2 separate regions of the Homo sapiens genome follow, and region 1 is linked to region 2. The links are contacts of gene promoters, found by promoter capture Hi-C in human tissues and cell types (Jung and others, 2019). All regions are on one chromosome and are shown on one strand. Each heading gives the region's core, a stretch centred on a gene start or on the middle of the fragment in contact. The rest is flanking DNA. Distances are from core to core; before and after follow the strand shown. Region 1 has its middle 70 kb from the start of MIR365B. Region 2 holds the start of RAB11FIP4 (RAB11 family interacting protein 4).

Region 1 (5,802 bases), core at 2,010-4,509, 250 kb after region 2:
ATTCTTAATCACAGGATGAGATAGAAGGTCAGAACAAGATACAGTCACAAAGACCCTGCTGACAAAACAGCTTGCAGTAAAGAAGCCAACCAAAACCTACCAAAACTAAGATGGCAACCCAAGTGACCTCTGGTCATCCTCACTGCTCATTACACACTAATTATAATGTATTAGCATGCTAAAAGACACTCCCACCAGTGACATAGTTTACAAATGCCGTGGCAATGTCAGGAAGTTGTCCTATATGGTCTAAAAAGGGGAGGAACCCTCAGTTCCAGGAATTGCTCACCCCTTTCCTGGAATACTCATGAATAATCCACCCCTTGTTTTGCATATAATCAGGAAATGACCATAAAAGTGGACAGCCAGCAGCTCTTGGGGTTGCTCTGCATATGGAGTAGCCATTCTTTTATTCCTTTCCTTTCTTTCTTTTTTTTTTTTTTTTGAGATGCAGTTTTGCTCTTGTTGCCCAGGCTGGAGTATAATGGCACCATCTCAACTCACCACAACCACCACCTCCCAGGTTCAAGCGATTCTCCTGCCTCAGCCTTCCGAGTACCTGGGATTGAGAGGTGAAGCCAGCTGGACTTCCTGGGTCAAGTGGGGACTTGGAGAACTTTTCTGTCTAAAGGATTGTAAATGCACAAATCAGTGCTCTGTGTCTAGCTAAAGGATTGTAAATGCACCAATCAGCACTCTGTAAAAACACACCAATCAGCGCTCTGTGTCTAGCTAAAGGATTGTAAACGCACCAATCAGTACTCTGCAAAATGGACCAATCAGCACTCTGTAAAATGGACCAATCAGCAGGATGTGGGCAGGGCCAAATAAAGGAATAAAAGCTGGCCACCTGAGCCAGCAGCAGCAACTTGCTCTGGTCCCCTTCCATGCTGTGGAAGCTTTGTTCTTTCGCTCTTCACAATAAATCTTGCTGCTGCTCACTTTTGGGTTTGCACCACCGTTAAGAGCTGTAACACTCACCATGAAGGTCCATGGCTTCATCCTTGAAGTCAGCAAGATCACAAACCCGCCGGAAGGAAGAAACTCCAGACACATCCGAACATCTGAAGGAACAAGCTCAGGACACACCATCTTTAAGAGTTGTAACACTCACCGCGAAGGTCCGCGGCTTCATTCTTGAAGTCAGCGAGACCAGGAACCCACCAGAAGTAATAAATTTCAGACACAGGATTATGGGCATGCACCACCATGCCCAGCTAATTTTGTTTTTTTTAGTAGAGATGGGGTTTCTCCAGTTGGTCAGGCTGGTCTTGAACTCCCGACCTCAGGTAACCCACCTGCCTGAGCCTCCCAAAGTGTATTCCTTTACTTTCTTAATAAACTTGCTTTCACTTTACTCTATGGACTTGCCCCAAATTCTTTCTTGCTCGAGGTCCAAGAACTCTCTCTTGGAGTCTGGATCAGGACCCCTTTCCAGTAACACTGTCATGATGAAGTGTGTGACACATTGTCAAGTGAAAAGAACAGGTTCTAAAATATTGATCTAATGTTGTTTAAAGATGTGTAGAAAAACTATAAGATTTTTTTTCCAAGGGTAACCTGTCAGTAGATCAATTGTTGAAATGACAATTATCAGTACCATATTATTATTATTATTATTATTATTATTATTATTAATGTTGTCTGTAGGCATTCAGGAGATAGCACAGAGGTCCTGCCCAATAATCCAGAAATCTCTTCATATTTTTACTGATTGTCATAATTACTGCTGTTTTGCATTTTATTATGATGGTTTTTTAAAAAGTTTCCTATAATAGATGAAGACTAGTGTATATATCTTCATTCTTCACTCTCTACCAGCATATTGTAAATACTTAATATTTTTAACCCTAAAGAAAATATGAACGATGCAAAAAAAAAAGTATAAAAAAGTATCTGAGGCCAAGTGTCGTGGCTCACCCCTATAACTGCAGCACTTTGGGAGGCTAAGTCCTGTGCAACGTGGCAAACCCTGTCTCTACTAAAAATACAAAAAAAAAAAAATAGCTGGGGATGGTGGCACATGCCTGTAGTCCCAGCTGCTTGGGAGGCTGAGGTGAGAGAATCACTTCAGTCTGGGAGATGAAGGTTGCAGTGAGCTGAGATAATGCTACTGCACCCCAGTCTAGGCAACAGAGAAGACTCTGTCTTAAGAAAAAAAAGAAAAAGAAAGCATCCGGAAAATAACACTAACATTAGCTTGTCTTTGGACAATTCGATTATGATTGAGTTTTCTTTTGCTTCTCTGTATTTCATCATTTTTCTATAATAAACATTTACAGATTGAACATGAGATAAGTAATTTTTAACCAAAAATGAACAAATTAACAGAATTAAAAGGCAAACAACAAACTAGGAAAAATAAATGCAATATAGTATATGTAATTGACAAAGGATTATGATTCATGACAGTTAATTTTACATGTCAACTTGACAGGGCCATGGAATGCTCAGATTAAACATTTCTGGGTGTGTCTGTGAGGGTCTTTCTGGGTAAGATTAGCATTCAAATTAGTGGACTTGGTAAAGCAGATTTCCCTCCCCTGCATTGATGGGAATCATCTCATCCTGGCCTGAATAGAACAAATGACAGAGGAAAAAGATAGGTTAAAAGATTAGTTTGGATCCTCTAGTAGAAGATCTCTCTCTCTTTCTTTCTCTCTCTCTCTCTCTCTGTCTCTCTATATATAGACCCCCTCAATGGTGGGGGTGTTGGAGAGCCCCAGTGGCCCAGAGCAGACTGTCAGATCCCAAACAGGGTGAAAACGGCATCCACAGAGAACTGGCCCACATGGGGTGCTAGAGGCAGAGCAGGGCGAGGAGGGGGCCAGTAGAGGAGGCCAGTGCAGCATGGGTGTGGGAGCCCACATAGAGTAAGGAGGATGTTCCCCCAAAGGGTGCCTGGTGCAAGAAGTCAGGCTTGAGAGGGTTGGGGTGGGGAGACACGCTAGCAGGGCAGGGAGGGCATCCACATGGGGGCAGTCCAGCATATGGTATCAGATCCCAAGCATAGCAAGGGGCATTTCCATGCAGGGATGGGTCAGGGAGAAGCCCAGCATGGGAGCTCAGTGTCTGAGTGGGGTGAGGAGCATGCTAGGCAGTGGGAGGTGTGGCTAAACATGGGATGCTGGAGCCTGGTGGGGTGAGGAGAGCGCCCATCCCAGTGGCCCAGTGAGTGATGTTGAAACACAGGTGAGGGGAAGAGAGTGTCTATGTAGGGAGGGGTCACTGGCACCTTGACACAAGATTTTAGAGCCCAAGAAGAGTGAAGGGGAAGGAGGCAGCACTGGTGATGGAAGAGTGACTACAAACAGGAGACTTGATCAAATAAAGATAACAGGAACCTGATTACCCTCTAACAGTGAAGACAGAGAAGGGAGTTACAAATATGGAAGAAAGAAAATGTTAATAAGTCCGGGGGCACTGGATTGAAATGAGAGGTATTAGTGTGAATTCATGATTTTTCAATACACATGTTGATATATAAATATAAGTGTGTATATGTATATAACATATAAATACATAGTTCCTAGCTCTGGACTGGGAGCAGTAACGCCCTAAGAACAATGAGCACATGTAATGCCCAGATTTTGGCTTCTACATACCATTCCCCAAAAAAGCAACCAGATCTCCCTGGGAAAGTGGCTGATTCTAAGACTTGCGGGGAGAGTACAAGATGAGCCTGAAAGCGAAAGAAAGTGCTCTAAGAATGAGAAATATGTCAACAGGGCGTAGCATTCACCTTCAAGGGCCCCTGCTAGCGAAATCTGTGGCAATTTAAGCATCAAAATAAATAATGAGCGCAACAGATTATAATTCATTAGATAAAATAACAAACTATGCATTTGTATGAATAGAAATGAATACATTGAAAGCCACTTGATAGGATGCAATAAGAACATGTTAGCACATTTGTGGTATCACTGCCAAAGATACATAACTGAATCCCGTCATGAAGGAACAACACACAAACCCAAAGTGAGGCACATGCTGCAAAATAGCTGGTCTATAATCTTCAAAAGCATCAAGGTAATGTTACCAAAACACTGGGCATTTGGTCTAGGTCCTGCTCCTCGTGGCACAGAAAGGCAATCACTGAGACACTAAGTATTGCCAAGGAAGAAGGCTTTATCGGGTGCTGCAGCAGAGGAGATGGGAGCTCAGCCTCAAATCTATCTCCCTGATTGACTAAAACTAGGGGTTTATACAGCAGGGAAGAAATGTAACAATGTATAAGAAAACAAGAACTAGGAAGGGCCAAGGAGGTATCTGGTGGTGATCAGGTGAGTTTCAGTTCTTTGATCCTTTTCTTGAGAGGCCTAAAGGTCCTTTCCTGAGGAAGGAAGTTGGATAAAACAGATACAAATTTCAAGCTGTAACAGCAGAAGGGTCAATTTCTATATTTATCCAAAAACAACTGTCTATGGGCCTACTGGGCAAGTTTCAGTAATATGAGTTTTGTCAAGACTGAGGAACTGGTTCAGACTGGAGTAGACTGAGGTTGGTCCTGAAGTGGATCCTTCTACTATAAAGAATATTTTGAGAACAGGAGGTCAAGCTTAAATAAAGTCTGAGGATTTGATGGAAGCAGTGTATTACTCAAGCTATCATAGCTGAATAACAGACCACTTAGTGAAATTTAGCACCAGACATTTGTGGGTCAGGAATTCAGAAAGGGCTCAACAGGGACAGTTTGTCTTTGCCCCAGGAGGTCTGGGGCCTCATCTGAGAAAACTTGAGCCTGGGGGTAATTCTATGGCTAGGGTCTCTGGAACCATCTAAAGTCTTGCTCACTCACCAGATGCCTCCTTGGCCCTCCCTACTTCTTATTTTCTTACACATTGTTACATTTCTTCTCTGCTATATAAACCTCTAGTTTTAGTCAGTCAGGGAGATGGATTTGAGGCTGAGCTCCCATCTCCTCTGCCGCAGCACCTGATTAAAGCCTTCTACCTTGGCAATACTTGGTGTCTCAGTGATTGGCTTTCTGTGTGACAAACTCACATGCCTGGTGCCTGGGTTGGGAAAACTCCAAGACCAAGACTGCTGACAGGGGCACCTACAGGTGTCCTCTCCATATATCCAGCTTCCTCACAACATGGTGGCCTCAGTCAGATTTCTTACATGGAGGCTGTGGGCTCCAAGAACAAATATTCCAGCAAACAAGGCAGAAGTTGCATCACCTTTCCTGTCTTGGCCATTGAAGCCACCTTCTGTTGGTTACAAGCAAGTCAAAAACCTGCCCAAATTAAAGAGGAAGGAGATATAGACCCTCATCTCTCTATGGAGGAGTGTTGAGGTCACGTTGAAAAAGAATATGTGAGGTTTAACATACTGCTGCAGCTGTCTTTGGAAACTACAATCTGTCACAAATATCAATGTTCATTTCCTGATTTTGCCAGTAGGACTGTGGCAATGTAGGAAACATACAGTGAAGTTTTTTGTTTTTGCTTTTTTGATGGAGTCTCTTTTTGCCCAGGCTGGAGTGCAGTGGCGTGATCTTGGCTTACTGCAACCTCTGCCTCCTGGATTCAAGTGATTCTCCTGCCTCAGCCTCCTGAGTAGCTGGGATTACAGGCACACACCACCACACCCGGCTAATTTTTGTATTTTTAGTAGAGACGGGGTTTCACCATGTGTGGCCAGGCTGGTCTCAAACTCCTGACCTCAAGTGATCCACCTGCCTTGGCCTCCCAAAGTGCTGGGATTACAGGTGTGAGCCACAGCACCCTTTCTTTAATAGTGCAGTATTTGGAGGCAGGGTGGTATGGTACATCAGATCTCAAGTGGTTCAGGAAATAA
Region 2 (5,664 bases), core at 2,094-4,593:
CTTTTCACTTCTCTGCAGGAGCACATGGGAGAGGTGGTCAAGGTGGGCAAGGAGTGGGGTGGTCATGAAAGGCTTCCGGTAGGAAGTGCCACTTCCACAACACAAGGACAGGAATTAGAGAAAGTGGAATTGGGTGGGGGTAGGATTGAGACCTCCCACCCACTAAGCAAAGGGAGGCAGGAGGGAGCCTGGATGCTCCCAGACTAGGGTTAAGGAGAGGCAGGAGAGTATGAAGACACTGCACAATGCCAGCTCAGGCAATGGTGGCCATTGAGTTTTCAGCAGGGGAGGGACCTGATCAAACTTGTTTCTTCCTAGAGAAGGGGCCGGAGTCCCAACTGTCCCTTCCATGTATATTTCCCAGTATATTTCCAGCCTGCCCAGGCTGCTGCAGCTGTTGGAAATCCCCTGGAGAATCAGAGGTCACCTGGAGGAAGCGGAGGACAGAAAGGAGGCTCCGCGCCTTCCCGCCCTATCCATGGGGACCTCTTGCTTTCCTGGAGCAACCCCCTTCACCCTGCAGCCGGCCCTGACATGGGTATTCTCTTGCTGCTTCTGCTCGGGGCTGCACTCTGAGCTCTTGGATCAGGGTTTTGGGAGCCCTAGTGGTCCCAGGTCCACTTCCAAGGACCCAAGGACTCCATAAATTGCACCATCTCTGAGGGACCTTTGGGTAGGCACTCAGCCATTTCTGCAGGCCCTCTTGGGCTCCTAGAGCCTGGCACCTCAGTGTAGATCACACTGGGCCATGACTGCCCCCATCAAGTTCAGCAAGTGGCTGCACCCCTTTCACTGTCTCCCTAGCATACCCAACACAACGTAGGTGCTCAACAAAAACGTGACAACCCCAGAAAGAATGCCTGTGACGTGCTTTGCTGGCCCCAGCAGCACAGCGGTGAGCAAGAGACCCAGTGCCACTGGTGGGGGAGGCAGGTGTCCTTCAAACCATCGCCCACCAGAGACAAAACTGCAGAGACCTGGGCAAGGAGAGTCCGGTCAGGGAAAGCTCTCCTGGGGGATTTTTGAATTTGTGATGATCCTGTCTTTGACAAGAACTGGCTAATCTGGTTGCGGGATTCTGTCTTGGTTCACTTGGGATTTGTTCATGCTCAGGTCTGAGGTCCCCGCCTCTGCCAGCTGAAGTGGGTGAGTCTTCCAGCTCCCCTGTCCCCAGTTAGGGGGCATTCAATGCCAGGCTGAGCGCGGAGAGCCATTTCTGCAGCCCCCACCAGGGGGCAGCCCCAGCTCCTGGCCATCTCCTTTCTGTGCTGAGCCCCTTGGGTGAGAGAAAATGGCACGAGCTGACCTTGGACGAACTAATATCGGGGTCCCAGGGGCAGGCAGCAGCCCCCAGCTTCCACTCCCTACCTCCTTGCCAGGGGGCTGGCTGGATCTCCAGCAGCCAGTCTCTCCCAGCCAGCTGCTTGTCCTTATTCTCCACTTCCACCTCCATTTTGCAGGGTAGGTCGGGGGAAAGCAGCATTGCTTAGATTCGCTCTCATCTTCAGTTGCCCTAAAAGGAAGGTACTATTATCCTCACGGTACAGGCGAGGAAACCGGCTAAAATATGCTAGTATCCTGCTGAGCGGCATCCAGCTAGCAGAGACGCTCCTACTCAGCCGAATACCCCTACTCCACTCCCACGGCCTCCCCTTTCCCGCTTTCTCACATTTCGGACTCCTCAATCCTCAGAACCACAGGTCTCTCTTCCCAAGAGGTGTTGCCTTTCGTGGCTCTCAGACGAACTGAAGGGTCAAAGGAGAGTAGCTAAAAGCCAGGTTCATCCCAGGAGCCGGGGCTGGAAAGAAGAGGTCCCCGCCCACTGTCAGAAGGCAAATGGCAGTCCCTGCGCAGGATATATTCAGGGTTGAGCAGGAAGACCACAGAGGTACAAACCGAGGCCCAGCTAGGGGAGGCCATGCAGTTCACCCCGTACTCCCTGTCTGCGCCACTACGTTGCTCCCGGCTCCTCACATAATGGGCGGGCCCATCCCCTCTGGGTGGGGCTTCCTCTGGGCCCACTCTTGCCTGGAGATCAGGGACTTGAAGGTAATTAAGACATATCTTGCCCTGGAGGGCTTCCCAGCATGGTAGGGGAAATGGGCATCCCACTAGAGAATTAAGAATTAACTGGGCACCTGGAAGAAGGGCTTAGAACTCAGAATAGAAGATAAGATGGCGTGCCATCAGAGAAGCCTTCCCGGAGGAGGAAACCTCTGTGCTGAGCATGACAGCATAGGTGGGAGTAGACTCAGCCAAGGCCTTTTTTTGGGTTGGGGCCAGTCGTTGCCACAAAGACCTGATGTGCCGAGCAAGAAGGTGGAGAGAAGAGCCCGGCCGGGTCCTGCAGGGCCCCGAGGCTGGGCTGGGAAGTTAGCACAAGCTGGGGTGGAGGCTCCGCTGAGCACTAATGGGAGGAGGCCAGGGTCCTGACCTAGAGCCTGCGGCCAGCGGGACAGAGATTCTGTCCTGGATTCTCTGAGCTTGGGGCATGCGGGCTGCCAGGGAGGTGTGATGGTGGGAACCCGGCGAAAGGGAGGAAGCCTCTTCCAGGCGTGGAGCAGCCTTGGGCCCTGAACAGGCAGGCCTCTGGAAGCGCCTCGCTTTTCCTCCCTCCGGCCTCATCCTGGTTTTCTCCTCATCTCCCCGTCGCAGGGTCCCGGGTCCAGGCTGGGGTTCAGTTGCCTGCTCCTCCTCTCTGTGCCCTCCCCCGCCCGATGGCCCCACAAGTGCTGTCTTGCAGGAGAGCGCCGGGAGACCGCAGGGCGGAGGTGAAGAACGGAGTCCAGAGCCCTCCAGAGATGGCAGCGAATCCCGGCCCTGCCTCTTGCCAGCTGTGTGGCCTAGAGTGAGTCCGACCTCTCTGGGCCTCAGCTTCCTCCGGGATGAATGCAGTCACGGAACGCGCCAATGCAGGAGGCCCCCAGGACATCCTGAGCGCTCGGGAGACGCCAGGCGCGGCAGCGGGCACGGATAGCGGAAAGGGGCGCGACCCCGCGGAATCCTCCGGCAGGGCAGGGCCTTTGGGTGGCTCCGGGTGTCCAGAGGAAGGGGTGGGCTCGGGGACGCGGAGGGAAACTGGGGACGCGGAGGGAAACTGAGGTCGCGGAGGACGCGGCCGTTGGCAGCTCGCTGCGCCTGCCGGCCCCGCGTGGGCCGCCCCACTCGGGAGGACGCGGGCTCCTTTTGTCTGCAGCGTCCCCGCCGCCGCCGCCCCCGCCGCCTCCCCCTCTCCCTCCCATTTTCGCCGCGGCCCCCGCCCCTCCCCTCCCCGCCCCCTATTGCCCCTCCTCCTTCCCCTCCCCACTCTTCTCCTTCCCTCCCCTCCCCTCCCTTCCCCTCCGGAGCGGCTGGGGCTGCGGCGCCGCTGCTGACACGGATCGGCCGCGGCCGCCACCGGGCGGAGGCTGCGCGGCGCAGACCCAGACGGGCGGCCCCGGAGGGCGCGCGGCGATGGCGGCGGCGGGCAGGCGGCGGGCGCGGCGGGCGAGGGGTCCGGGCTGAGCTGCGGGCCGGCCCGGATGGCGGGCGGCGCGGGCTGGTCGGGCGCCCCCGCGGCTCTGCTGCGCTCCGTGCGCCGCCTGCGCGAGGTGTTCGAGGTGTGCGGCCGCGACCCCGACGGCTTCCTGCGCGTGGAGCGCGTCGCGGCGCTCGGACTGCGCTTCGGCCAGGGCGAGGAGGTAAGCTGGCCCGACCCCAGTCCCGGCCCGGGGACCCCAGCCCAGCCCCGCCGCCCCTCCCCCAGCTCCCCCGCCGGGTCACCCGCGTGGCCCGAGGCGGTGGCCTCCCTCCCAATCCCCTCCCTCCGCCGGAGCCCAGGACCTCGGCCCCCCCCGGGTATCCCTGGCCCAGCCGGGCCCTCGCTTTCCGCCCCCCGGCGCCCGTGCCCCGAGCGTCACGCGTCACGCCTAGGGTGGCTTCTGCGCCCACCTTCCTTCCTCGGCCATGCAGGTCCTTCTGAGCGGTCTGCACATCCACCCTTGTCTGGGGGAGAGAGCTGCCAGAATCCGGCCCTAGGCTCCCCACCCCACCCGGCGCTGCGGAGACCAAGATGCAAGGGTCTGTGTACGTCCTGCTGGGCCGGGCCAGGGGGTGAAAGGGACCGGTAGGGGTGCTCTGCAGCCTTGGCTCCTCGGCTGCACACACCCTGCCCAGACACGGAAGGAGGTGTCTGCTGGGGCCACCGTGTACTCCCGGGCCAGTGTCGGGTGACCTCTCATTCAGGCTCTGCTGGGCAGCCAGGCTGGCAGCTGGCTGTGTTGGTTGCAGCAGGCCAGGCAAAGCCAGGCTCGGGGAGTGGTGGCTGAGCAGAGGGCTTTCATGTGGCGGGGCCGCATCTATTTGGGGAAAGCAGGACTTACGTAGATTGTTAACAGGGCTGGAAGCGGAGGGTCGGTGCCGCCAGTAGGGTGGACGGAGTCATATCACTAAACGCACACTACACCAGTGTCCTCTGGTGCCACCGGCATGGGGACTGGGGACTGTGTCTCAAGGGGAGGACAAGACACCCACCTGGCTGAAATGGTCAGGGGTTTCCCCTGGAGCCAAAAGCCCTGAGAAGTGGGTTTCCAAGGCCATCTAAGGCCTCAGGCCCTGCATGGGGGGCCTGGGGCCATGGGCCTCAAATGGGCACTGGCTGGCATTGTGTTCCCAGAACAGGTCGGACCAGGCATTTCAGAACATGGGAGAAGCTGGGTGATGGCCAGGTTGGGCCCGTGCCTCTGCGTCACCAGAGAGTGGGAGGCGATTGAGAATCATCTCTCCACCCGCACCTGGGCATGGGCCGGGACTTGTGAGTCGCTGAGAGCTGTGGGCAGAAGAGAGTGAGGCAGCTTCAGGGCTTGAGAACTCAGGTACCCACCACAGGAAAGACCACTGCAGTGCCTGTGAGAGCCCAGACTGCCCTCTGCGGGGCTTTGCTGAGGGACACTGCCTGCTGCCACCATGACCCTTCTTCCCCAAAGGCCAGCCAAGCCCTTCCGTTTTTCCAGTGGCTCCCATCTGGGGCAGGCTGAGCAGACTCCTGGCATGGGGATAGTCGCGCTCCTTCCTCTCAGAACACAGACTGCAGGTCGGGTAAAGAAGCTACCAGCTCTGGCTGAAACCTGGAGTCCCCGAACTCAGAGCCTCAGTAGTGGGAAGGGCCTCCCAACAACCTCTGGCAGGGGCCACCGGCCTCAGCCACGTGCCCAGCAAGCCTCACCCACTTCTCCCCCAGCTGGACAGTTCCTGCCATTAGAACCTTCTCCCTCATACACTCTAGAGACAGACCTGCTTGTCACTTAGTCATCACCGTTCTGCACGGGGACTCACATAGGTCTCTCTTCTTTGGGGGAGCCTTTAAATATTTGAAAATAGCACTCCTGCCCCTTCTCTCCTTCCCAGCTCCATACTCCCATTTTCCCTTCTCCAGGCCAAATACCCCAGTTCCTGAAGCCCTAGGCCATTTCCATGTGACCCAGTAGCCAGACCTCTGGCTTCTGGCCTTGGAGCTGCCATCGACTAATTCTGTGATTCAGTTTTCCTAGCAATAACATGAAAGGGCTGGACAAGCAGACCGCCCCCCGCCGCCCCCACCAGGACTATATTAGCCCCAAGACCTCACACATATGCACACAGCTTAGGGTGGGGCTGCCTCTGAATGGGGCACTGCACTCTGCTTAT

What was found. The method cuts DNA at HindIII sites, captures the fragments that hold promoters and counts their contacts. A contact is called where the count stands out against the background at its distance.
Region 1: a contact is called between a fragment that was not itself captured here and the fragment with the promoter of RAB11FIP4 in region 2, in 3 of the 25 tissues and cell types used here (IMR-90 fibroblasts, bladder and liver).

What each region holds. Positions count from the first base shown.
Region 1 is chr17:31,642,572-31,648,373 of GRCh38, forward strand. No RefSeq gene overlaps it. Among named protein-coding and RNA genes, the nearest start is that of MIR365B, 70 kb to the left of the region's middle. The HindIII fragment of the contact is 6,637 bases long and covers 1-5,802 here.
Region 2 is chr17:31,388,332-31,393,995 of GRCh38, forward strand. It overlaps RAB11FIP4 (RAB11 family interacting protein 4), which reads left to right and starts at 3,344. Exons shown (of 15, transcript NM_032932.6): 1 at 3,344-3,680. The coding sequence starts at 3,522. RefSeq lists an enhancer at 2,559-3,148. The HindIII fragment of the contact is 17,895 bases long and covers 1-5,664 here.